Linked DNA regions of Homo sapiens: region 2 is linked to region 1. Evidence: promoter capture Hi-C in human tissues and cell types (Jung and others, 2019). All regions are on one chromosome and are shown on one strand. The core of a region is centred on a gene start or on the middle of the fragment in contact, and the rest is flanking DNA. Distances in the headings are between cores, read along the strand shown. Region 1 holds the start of TXNDC8 (thioredoxin domain containing 8). Region 2 overlaps SVEP1 (sushi, von Willebrand factor type A, EGF and pentraxin domain containing 1).

Evidence for each region. Contacts are between HindIII fragments. The study calls those that stand out against the background at their distance.
Region 2: a contact is called between a fragment that was not itself captured here and the fragment with the promoter of TXNDC8 in region 1, in 1 of the 25 tissues and cell types used here (aorta).

The regions. Positions count from the first base shown.
Region 1 is chr9:110,335,896-110,341,420 of GRCh38, forward strand. It overlaps TXNDC8 (thioredoxin domain containing 8), which reads right to left and starts at 1,968. Exons shown (of 6, transcript NM_001424031.1): 1 at 1,878-1,968. The coding sequence starts at 1,901. It overlaps LOC124902245 (a long non-coding RNA gene), which reads left to right and starts at 309. Exons shown (of 2, transcript XR_007061728.1): 1 at 309-2,342; 2 at 2,630-2,747. The HindIII fragment of the contact is 11,230 bases long and covers 1-5,525 here.
Region 2 is chr9:110,373,183-110,378,110 of GRCh38, forward strand. SVEP1 (sushi, von Willebrand factor type A, EGF and pentraxin domain containing 1) reads right to left here. Exons shown (of 48, transcript NM_153366.4): 45 at 4,089-4,184; 46 at 2,186-2,281. Among named protein-coding and RNA genes, the nearest start is that of TXNDC8, 38 kb to the left of the region's middle. RefSeq lists an enhancer at 4,236-4,405. The HindIII fragment of the contact is 4,580 bases long and covers 746-4,928 here.

The DNA of each region.
Region 1 (5,525 bases), core at 718-3,217:
CCACCCAAATCTCATCTTGAATTGTAGCTCCCATAATCCCCACATGTCATGGGAGAGACCTAGTGGGAGGTAAATGAATTATGGGGGTGGGTTTTTCCCATGCTGTTCTCATGACAGTGAGTCAGTCTAAAAATATCTGACGGTTTTATAAAGGGCAGTTCCCCTGCACACGCTGTCTTGCCTGCCGCCATGTCAGACATGCCTTTGCCCCTCCTTCGCCTTCACCATGATTGTGAGGTCTTCCCAGCCATGTGGAACCGTGAGTTCATTAGATCTTTTTTTCTTTATAAATTACCAAGTATTGGGCATTTCTTCATAGCAGTATGCAAATAGACTAATACAACATGCCTGCTCTATAATAGCCTTGACAATTATGTGGCTACTTTGTTTAGTTTCAATCAGGTGAAAGTGATGACTCAAAGAAGATGCACTCTCTTTCTTTATCAATATTCCTCTGGGAGGGAGTAACTAACTTTTCAGAGAACCTTGCCAAGCCTTTATTTCTCACTTGCTTCTGAAGTTGTAAGGTAGATGCTATCCTCACAAACTCCCAACACTCTTCACTTTCCAGTAGTTGTTGTTTGGGTGTGAGCTGGCCTAATTGGACCCATGAACTTGACTTGACTAAACTATCTGAAGGGAATACTCTCATAGTATAGGTATTTATTTAACATATGCGTATTGAGGCCTATACTATGCCAGCTACTGCACAAACTGCTAGGATACCACTGTGGACAAAAACAAAACAAAACAAAACAAAAACTAGGCATTCTGTCTCCATGGAGTTTACATTTTAGAATGGGAAGCTTACTATAAGGTCAATAGGTAATATTTGTAGTATATTAGTGCTAATTGCTAATAAAGAAAATAAAAAGAAAATGAAGTAGGAAGGAAGAATGGGGGTTGGATTACAACTGTAGTCTGGATGGCCAAGGTCAACCTCAAAGAGAAGGTGGCATCTGAATAAAGATGGGATGGAGATCAGGGCCTCTGGAAAGGTCCCTGGGGAGGAGATGAAAGGTCTTCTGAGGGAATAAGGCTCCAGGCTATTCTGTGACATCCCCAGAATATTAAAACAATAAGTGTCAAAAGCATTAGCAAATGTGTGATGTTTCAAAACATGTTCTTATGTCGAAGTTACAGGGCAGTACTCTCTTTCAATCTGGTCAGTGTCATTTTTGTGATCTGTATAGCCACCTTTGGGGAAAATGTCACAAGTCTAAATCTGAGGCTGCTGGTGGACATGAGGCTCAGGCCCCAAACCCCCTCCCCTCCTCCAGCTCTTGACTTCTTGTAATGAGGGCAGGCATCAGAAGGTCTGGGTTCTAATGCCCACACCACCTCTTAAACGAACTAGCCCTGAACCTCTCTTTTAGAGGCAATTTTCTCCTTTATAAATCAAGAATTATCTCTGTCCTATACATGAATTTAGATTTGTTGTGACAGCAACATTGGGCTGTTCCCAATTTTCCCACCCCATTCCACATCTGGGGTTTCTATTATTTTTCCTTGGATAAGAGAAAAGATGTGGACTTCCTTACTTCCATGGAATTTTCCAAGCACAACTGAGGTACGATCCATGGGATCAGATACAGGATGGGATGTACTAGGAGCTGGTCTGGGATTCACCTGAAGTCAGGCAGGAAATAAAAGTCCAGGAGGAAGAAAGCCCTTCTTTATCAATTTGACCCTTGGCTGCTTTTCTTGATAGTACCATCCCTCAAGGAACAAGATAAAGAACAAGAATTTAGAACTCTCCCCTTGCTACAATGCAATGATAGAATACTGGATAGAGAGAACACATTCTTAAAGTTTTTCAAATCTGTTCCCAAGATGTCCACATTTGAAATACTCAGTGAAGCCAAATAAATACTTGCCGTGTCTTTAATAATCTGTACCATGATTACACCAGGGAAGTGCTGATGAAAATCCCCTGTTGGTTTAGTTGGATCACTGTAGCTGTCTCCTATTTATTACAGTATCCTGCCTGGAATACATGGATAACTTCTCTATGACATCATTAAACATGTCATCTCAGAACCTGGAACTTTGGCAGACTTTGGATCCTATTTCACTTTTATGCCATGACTAGTTCATTTGTGGACAGCCAAGAATCAGAAAACTGAGGGCTTTATATGCAGAATCAGTAATGTGTTTGCTTTATTTTCATCTTTTATAACCTATTTCTAAATATCCTTCTCCCTTCTCTAATCCCTCCATCCCATCACCAAATGAGAAGTAAGCAGAGTAATATTAAATAGATGAGATTTTCACTTAAGAATTTGAAGATTTTGCTGTTGAGAAAAATACTAAAGTCTTAACCCTATAATAATGAGTTTCCTGTAAGTTTGATTTCATGAGTCATAAATTCCCTGAACTTTGTTATTTTGCTCTAATTATTTAGAGAGTAAAGAAATGTCACTTTTATGCTCTAGATCAAGGGTTGGCAAATGTTTTCTCTAAGGGAACAGATACTATTTTAGTTTTATGGGCCTCATACAGTCTTTGTTGCATGTTCCTTATGTTTTTGCAACCTTTAAAAAATGTAAAAACCATTCGCAGCTAGTAGGATGTACAAAGAACAGCAGCAGTTTGCTGACCCCTGCACTTGATGATTTGCCATTTTCAGAACTGATGTCAGAAAAATTCTGAACATGACCATGGCCAATGTTCTTCAAATCTACAGAGCAACAAGAACAACCAAAATGAGAAATAGTAGATTCTATAATAAAACAAAAATAGCAAAATCCTTCTTTCTGTTTTTCTATATATGCAGCTCTGGGCCTTCAATCATGTGTTGCATGAAAACTGTCAGATGGAGACAGTGGCTGCCTCTGTAGAGGTATTTGAAGTATGCATGTAACAAAATATCACATGTACCCCATAAATACGTAGAAGTATTATGTATTGATATGGTTTGGCTGTGTCCCCACTCAAATCTCATCTTGAATTGTAGCTCCCATAATTCCCAAGGGTTGTGGGAGGGACCGGTGGGAGATAATTGAATAATGGGGGCAGTTCTTCCATACTGTTCTCATGGTAGTGAATACATCTCATGAGATCTGATGGTTTTATAAGACGTTTCCCCATTTGCTTGGCTCTCATTCTCTCTTGCCTGCTGCCATGTAAGACGTGACTTTCACCTTCTGCCAGAATTGTGAGGCCTCCCCAGCCACATGGAACTGTGAATCTATTAAACCTCTTTTTCTTTATAAATTACCTAGACTTGGGTATGTCTTTATCAGCAACGTGAAAAGAGACTAATACACGTATTAACAAAAAAATTTTTTTTATTATAGTTTAAGTTTTAGGGTACATGTGCACAATGTGCAGGTTAGTTACAAATGTATACATGTGCCATGTTGGTGTGCTGCACCCAGTAACTCGTCATTTAACATTAGGTATATCTCCAAATGCTATCCCTCCTCCCTCCCCCCACCCCACAACAGGCCCCGGTGTGTGATGTTCCCCTTCCTGTGTCCATGTGTTCTCATTGTTCAATTCCCACCTATGAGTGAGAACATGCGGTGTTTGGTTTTTTGTCCTCGTGATAGTTTGCTGAGAATGATGCTTTCCAGCTTCATCCATGTCCCTACAAAGGACATGAACTCATCCTTTTTTATGGCTGCATAGTATTTCATGGTGTATATGTGCCACATTTTCTTAATCCAGTCTATCATTGTTGGACATTTGGGTTGGTTCCAAGTCTTTGCTATTGTGAATAGTGCCGCAATAAACATACATGTGCATGTGTCTTTATAGCAGCATGATTTATAATCCTTTGGGTATATACCCAGTAATGGGATTGCTGGGTCAAATGGTATTTCTAGTTCTAGATCCCTGAGGAATCGCCACACTGACTTCCACAATGGTTGAACTAGTTTACAGTCCCACCAACAGCCCAAAAGTGTTCCTATTTCTCCACATCCTCTCCAGCACCTGTTGTCTCCTGACTTTTTAATGATCGCCGTTCTAACTGGTGTGAGATGGTATCTCATTGTGGTTTTGATTTGCATTTTTCTGATGGCCAGTGATGATGAGCATTTTTTCATGTGTCTTTTGGCTGCATAAATGTCTTCTTTTGAGAAGTATCTGTTCATATCCTTCGCCCACTTGTTGATAGGGTTGTTTTTTTCTTGTAAATTTGTTTGAGTTCATTGTAGATTCTGGATATTAGCCCTTTGTCAGATGAGTAGATTGCAAAAATTTTCTCCCATTCTGTAGGTTGCCTGTTCACTCTGATGATAGTTTCTTTTGCTGTGCAGAAGCTCTTTAGTTTAATTAGATCCCATTTGTCAATTTTGGCTTAAAAAATTAAAAAAGGTACTTGAAGTATTTTCAATGTCTTTGTTCATTGCTTGTTCTCTCTCGTTTTCACTGGGATGCATCCTCCATCACAGCCAGAAATTTTATTCATGCTTATATATTGTAGAGCTTATCCTCATCTATTTCTCCTCCATCTTTTCTCTCATTTTCATTCAAGAAGGAAAAATGGATGTTGACACAAACTGAACATCTTCCAAGCAGGGTTTCTTAACCACAGCATTTCTGACGCTTTGGGCCAATAATGCTTTGTTATAGGGGGCTGTCCTGTGCATTGTAGGCTGTTTAGCAGCATTCCTGACTTCTACCCACTAGATGTCAGTAGCACCTCCAAGTGGTAATAACCACAAGTGTCTCCAGGGGGGCAAAATTGTCCCCACTGGAAAACCGCTACTTCAAAGTGTGAGCTCCATTGTAAGCATTATTTTCATACATCTTATAAGTGCCCAGTTAGCTAAGGTAACTGTGTCCATCTACAGGTAAGATGGTCCAGGTACAGCAAGTTTCGATAACTTACGATTGGTAGAATTAATTTGGAATCCAAGCCTGGGTTGCTTCTCATGTAGGAAGGAACACAGGGTCGGCTAAAATATATAGGTCTCTAAGAAAGCCATTTAGCACTGGATGATCTGAATTCAGAGTGAATTCCTTTTTTCTCTGCACCAGGAAGACACCTACCATTTCCATTCTCCTTTTTCTTGTGGAATTAGCTCTTCTTGAACTTCTCTCCACAGCATTTGAAAAGAAGATGGTTCATAACGAACGCTCAGACACAGCTGCTACACCAACAAACCCTGGTCATGTCCCTGGGGTTTCTGGAAGTCAAGCAAGGCTGGGCCAGTACGTCTACCTTTCAGTGCTAGGGCTTGTAGACTTTTTCATGGAATTTGCTGCTAAGAAGCTTGCCTAGCCCAAGGACAGGGAGAGTACAAGCTGATGGCTCACAGAGGTTTATTTATTCTCAACTAGAATAAACACTACTACAATCCAGAAAATGGCCAAATTCACTAAAATTGATATTTTTTTATGTTTTGCAGACAGAGAGAGCTAGTCAGTAAGCATGGCAAATTTCTAGTCCTGGAAAAAGGCTCCTGGCCTAGTATTTTCTAGAAAAGAGCCATCTGGGCTTTCCCTTTGCACTTGACTGCCTTCTTTGTTTCCCTAGACTAATTTCTTACTTCGTTGGACTCACAAAGCTCCAG
Region 2 (4,928 bases), core at 1,786-4,285, 38 kb after region 1:
AGCAGGAGAAACGTGGGTAAATAGCAAAGTTGATTTGTTATAAACAAACACTATATAGACTGCTTTCAGAGTCTCAAATAAGGCCTTCAAATTCAGCCTCCAGGACATATTTCCTTCTCTACATTCATGAATGGCTCAATTTTGGCTTTAGGTAGGGTGACGACTGCACATCTGCTTTTGTCTGTAACAGTACTTTTCAGTCTCATTTCTCTGGTTTACTTATTAATAGTGCCTCTTTTACTCTCAAAAATGTCCTGGTTTGGAAGCTAAATTATATGGTCTTTCCAGCCTTAGGGTTCATGACAAGCTCTGGTGTTAGGAAGCCCTGTCTATACTTTACATGCCATTTATGTTTTACTCCACTGAGGAGGTGGTATAAACATTGTTTATAGGAGGAATAGTGGTATGTCAGAATTAATACTTCATAAATATAGCAAGCCCTATGTTTTAAGTGGTGGCTTAAAATTTTAGGACACTAGAAGGTAGTTTATCATTTTAAATTGAGTTATTTGACATTTACTAAAAATATCTACTATATTTCGGCACTATGCTAAGCACTGGGGATATAAAGATGATAAAAAAAAAATCCTTGCCCTCAAGTGGCGTATAATCTAGTGGGGGAAGGGATAGATAATCAAGCAATTGAACAGATGTCAAAGTATAGTGGGCCAAATGCTGTATTTGAGGTCTGCAAGAGGTGCTAACAGGATGTTTTTTACTAATCAATCAACTACCATTTGTTACTGTTGTCCATGATAAGAAACCATCTCTTTGATGAGTTTTGTAATATTTTTCCATTTCTTTTCCTTTAAACTTTTTTTTAACTTTTATTTTAGGTTCAAGGGTACATGTGCAGGTTTGTTATATAGGTACACTTGTGTCATGGGAGTTTGTTGTACAGATTATTTCATCACTCAGGTACTAAGCCTAGTTCCCAATAGTTATTTTGTTCTGATCCTCTCCTTCCTCCCACCCTCTACCCTCAAGTAGGCTCCAGTGTCTATTGTTCCTACGTGTTTACGTGTTCCCATCATTTAGCTCCCACTTATAAGTGAGAACATGTGGTATTTGGTTTTTTGTTCCTTTTATAAGGATGATGGCCTCCAGCTCCATCCATATTCCACAAAGAACATGATCTCGTTCTTTTTTATGGCTGCAGGGCTATTACTAAAAAGTAAAAAAATAGGCTGGATGCAGTGGCTCATGCTTGTAATCTCAAAACTTTGGGAGGCCAAGGTGGGTGGATCACTTGAGGTCAGGAGTTCAAGATCAGCCTGGCCAACATGGTGAAACTCTGTCTCTACTAAAAATAGAAAAATTAGCAGGGTATGGCAGCAGGTGACTGTAATCCCAGCTACTCCAGAGGCTGAGGCAGGAGAATTGCTTGAACCTGGGAGGCAGAGGTTTCAGTGAGTCAAGATTGCGCCACTGCAGTCCAGCCTGGGTGACAAGAGTGAAACTCTGTTCTCAAAAAACAAAACAAAACAAAACAAAAACATGCTGGGGAGGTTGTGGAGAAAAGGGAACACTTATACACTGTTGGTAAGAGTGTAAATTAGTTCAACCATTGAGGAAAGCAGTACGGCGATTCCTCAAAAACCTAAAAACAGAACTACCATTCAACCCAAGCAATCCCATTACTGGGTATATACCCAAGATAATAGAAATCATTCTACCATAAAGACACATGCTCGTGTATGTTCATTTCAGCACTATGCACAATAGCAAAGACACGGAATCAACCTAAATGCTCATCAATGGTAGACTGGATAAAGTGTTTTTTTTTTCATTTTAACTTAAATTGTATTTATGTATAACCTTGTTCTTTCTAAAGAGTAAGCATGAATTTAGTAATTTAGCTTCTTAGAGATTAAAATAAGTATTATTCTGAACCTCTGTGTAATGTCTTCTCTATGCTCTGCAAAATGAAGCAGATGACATAAAGAAGACAGATAATTGAGTAGACTTAGATGCTATTCTTCGGCACATGACCTGGAAACGTGTTTAGGCAACCATAAAATTCAGTGTTGAGACACGAATCAAGGGATCATCTTGAGGAATTTTTGAGAAACATCAGTACTTTTTCATTTTGCCACCACTTCTGAGTCTAAGTCACACTCTTCAATGTCCTCTGGAGTTTCATGGGCCTGAGCCACCAAGAAAACAAACCATGAAAGAGGCCTACCTGTATGACAGCGAGACCCCGTCCAGCCAGGCGGGCAGTCACACTGGTAAGGGGCCACACAGCGACCTCCGTTCAGACAGGGAAGAATGCAGATTGCTAAAAAAAAAAAAAAAAAAAAAAAAAGGAGGCAGGGGGGATTGAAATGGCGTTGATCAAAGTACACATCTTAGATAGGTTCAAGGGTTCAGAAAACATTTTGCAGGAGTGAAACCTTATATGACTCACTAAATAAGTTTCCTGCATGTGTTCTGCTTATTAATGAGTATCATTGGGAAAATACAATCAGGAAAGTAAGCCTGGATTCTTAGCCACATGTAATGACTTTAAGGCCAAATCCACTTTCAGTGAAGACACTCCGTAATCAGTGTCTGCAAAGTGCTTTGCTTTAACTCTTCACAAAATAAGCAGAACGGTCTCCATTTATTATAGTTTCAAATTTCCATTACAAATTACATAAAATGTTCTAAGAGGATTTGGCTGCCTTGAGGCTCTTCCTGTCTTGAACTAAATGTGAGAATGGGAATCAGATAGGCTGTAACATAGGGTTGGAGTTTGCAACATTTTGGTAGCAATGGGACAACACACCCTTTATTTCCGAGAAGCTGAGGACTGACGGTGACTGAATGATGCCTCCCGAACCCTGTTCATGACTATCATTCCTCCTCCTAGAAATCACTGAAATCTTTAAAGAGGCATAGTCTGTTTAAAAGATGTGAGTTTGTTGCTTTGCTCCCCAAAATCAAGTTCCCTAACCCCAATAGTCTTTGCATCACCTAGGAGTTGGTTAGCAATGCAGATATCAGGTACCAACTCAGATCTGCTGATCTCCCAGATGATCTGTATGCATAGCAAAGCTTGGGAAGCACTGGTATAATGAAGGAGGGCAGGCACATGCTCAGTGAGCCAGACCAGCTAAGGCAGCCAAGCCAGACCTGTCGTGGGGTACCCCAAAGTCAATGCTTACTAAGTCTTTGGACTCTTGACATAAGGGCAGGCTAAGTCTGGGAGCTCTAGGTGAAATGGAATGATTGGGGTGAGCTGGAAGAGAAAAGTGTGATTTCTCTTCTTTTTTAATCATTTGAGAATACTTGTTTTGGTGAGTTGTTAGCAGCCTAAATTTATTTCCATCATACATTTTCCTTTATAGATTAGTTGAAAAAGTCACACTTAAAACATTTTAGTCTCTTATAAAATTCCTGCCCTGTAGGAAAAACTGGTATAGACCAATGGCCATCACATGAATCACTCTTAATGGTTTACATACACTGCTCCTGTTGAAATATGAAACCATTTTATCCTTATATATATTTTAAGATATTGAAATAAAGTGTAGTTGAGATATTTAAAAATTTAACATCACTATCCATACCTCCCTGGAATTTCAAATTGTTTCTATAAGGATCAAAATTCTATATTAATTTACCAAGTATGGATATAGGAGTGCCAGCTTTTCTTATTTTCTTAATGAGTAGAAACTATTCTTAACAACAAAGAGGAAATGGTGAGCTGCAAATATTACCTGCAAAGTACATGTTTTGCAGTGGTGCACGTTTATACCAACTGCAGCAATGACTGACATAGCACATAGTAGACCTTGAGTTAAGGGAAGAGGATAGCTTGGAGACTTTACAACAAGCTCCTTCTCAAGAAGACTTTTGCAAATTTGTGCCAGGGAACATGTGAAAATGACTTTAGATGGATCTTAATAACAGTATTTTCAAAGTCATTAATATTCTAGATCTTCTGCAACCTGTTGACACATATGTGCTCTGTTTGGTGTGGACAAGGACTTACAGCAAATGAATTCTTCCCAACAGTACAACCATTTCCTGGTAACTCCCCTCAGGTGGGAGCATCCAGGCAATTTGTCAGGACTCAAAGTAAGATCTGAAGAGCAACTCACGTTCTTCACAGAGGCGCCCCATCCAGCCCTCTGGACAGGAACAAGCATTTGGGCGTTGGCAGATGCCCCCATTCTGACATGGAAATCGACAGACAGCTGGAAAAGAAGCAGGATGGGTCACAAATGTAGGGAATTATGAAGGGAAGGAGTCAGAAAATAGAATTGCCCCTTTATATCTCATACTATTTCCTTGAGTCAAGCTTTCAGGAAGAGAGACAAAAATCGAATCTCAGGAGGGAATTTCAGTATGTGGAGAAGTACAGCATTTTATTGGCTGCTATTATTTCAGTTTTCCCTGTAGCTTTATTGAGGTGCAACAAATAAAAATTGTATATATTTTTTACAACCTGATGTTTTGATTTATGTATAGATTGTGAAATAATCACCACAATGGAGCTAATTAGCACATTCATCCCCTCACATAGTTATTGTTTTCTTTCTTTCTTTTTTGTGGTGAGAACACAAGATCTATCCTTTCAGCAAATTTTCAGTATACAATACAGTATTGTTAACTACAGTCACATTGCTGGACATTAGAACTCCAGAACTTATTCATCTTGCATAACTGAAACTTTGATACCTTGAGCAACATCTCCCTATCCTCACCCCCTCCCAGCTCCTGGGAACCACCATCTACTCTCTGCTTCTATGAGTTTGACTGTTTTGGATTCCACCTATCAGCAAAGTCAGGCAGTATATGTCATTCTGTGTCTGGCTTATTTCATGTAGCATGATGTCCTCCAGGTTAGTCCATGTTGTTGTAAATGGCAGGATTTTCTTCTTTTGCAAAGCTGAATAATATTTCATTGTATCTGCCTATTTTTATCTGCATGTCTATCT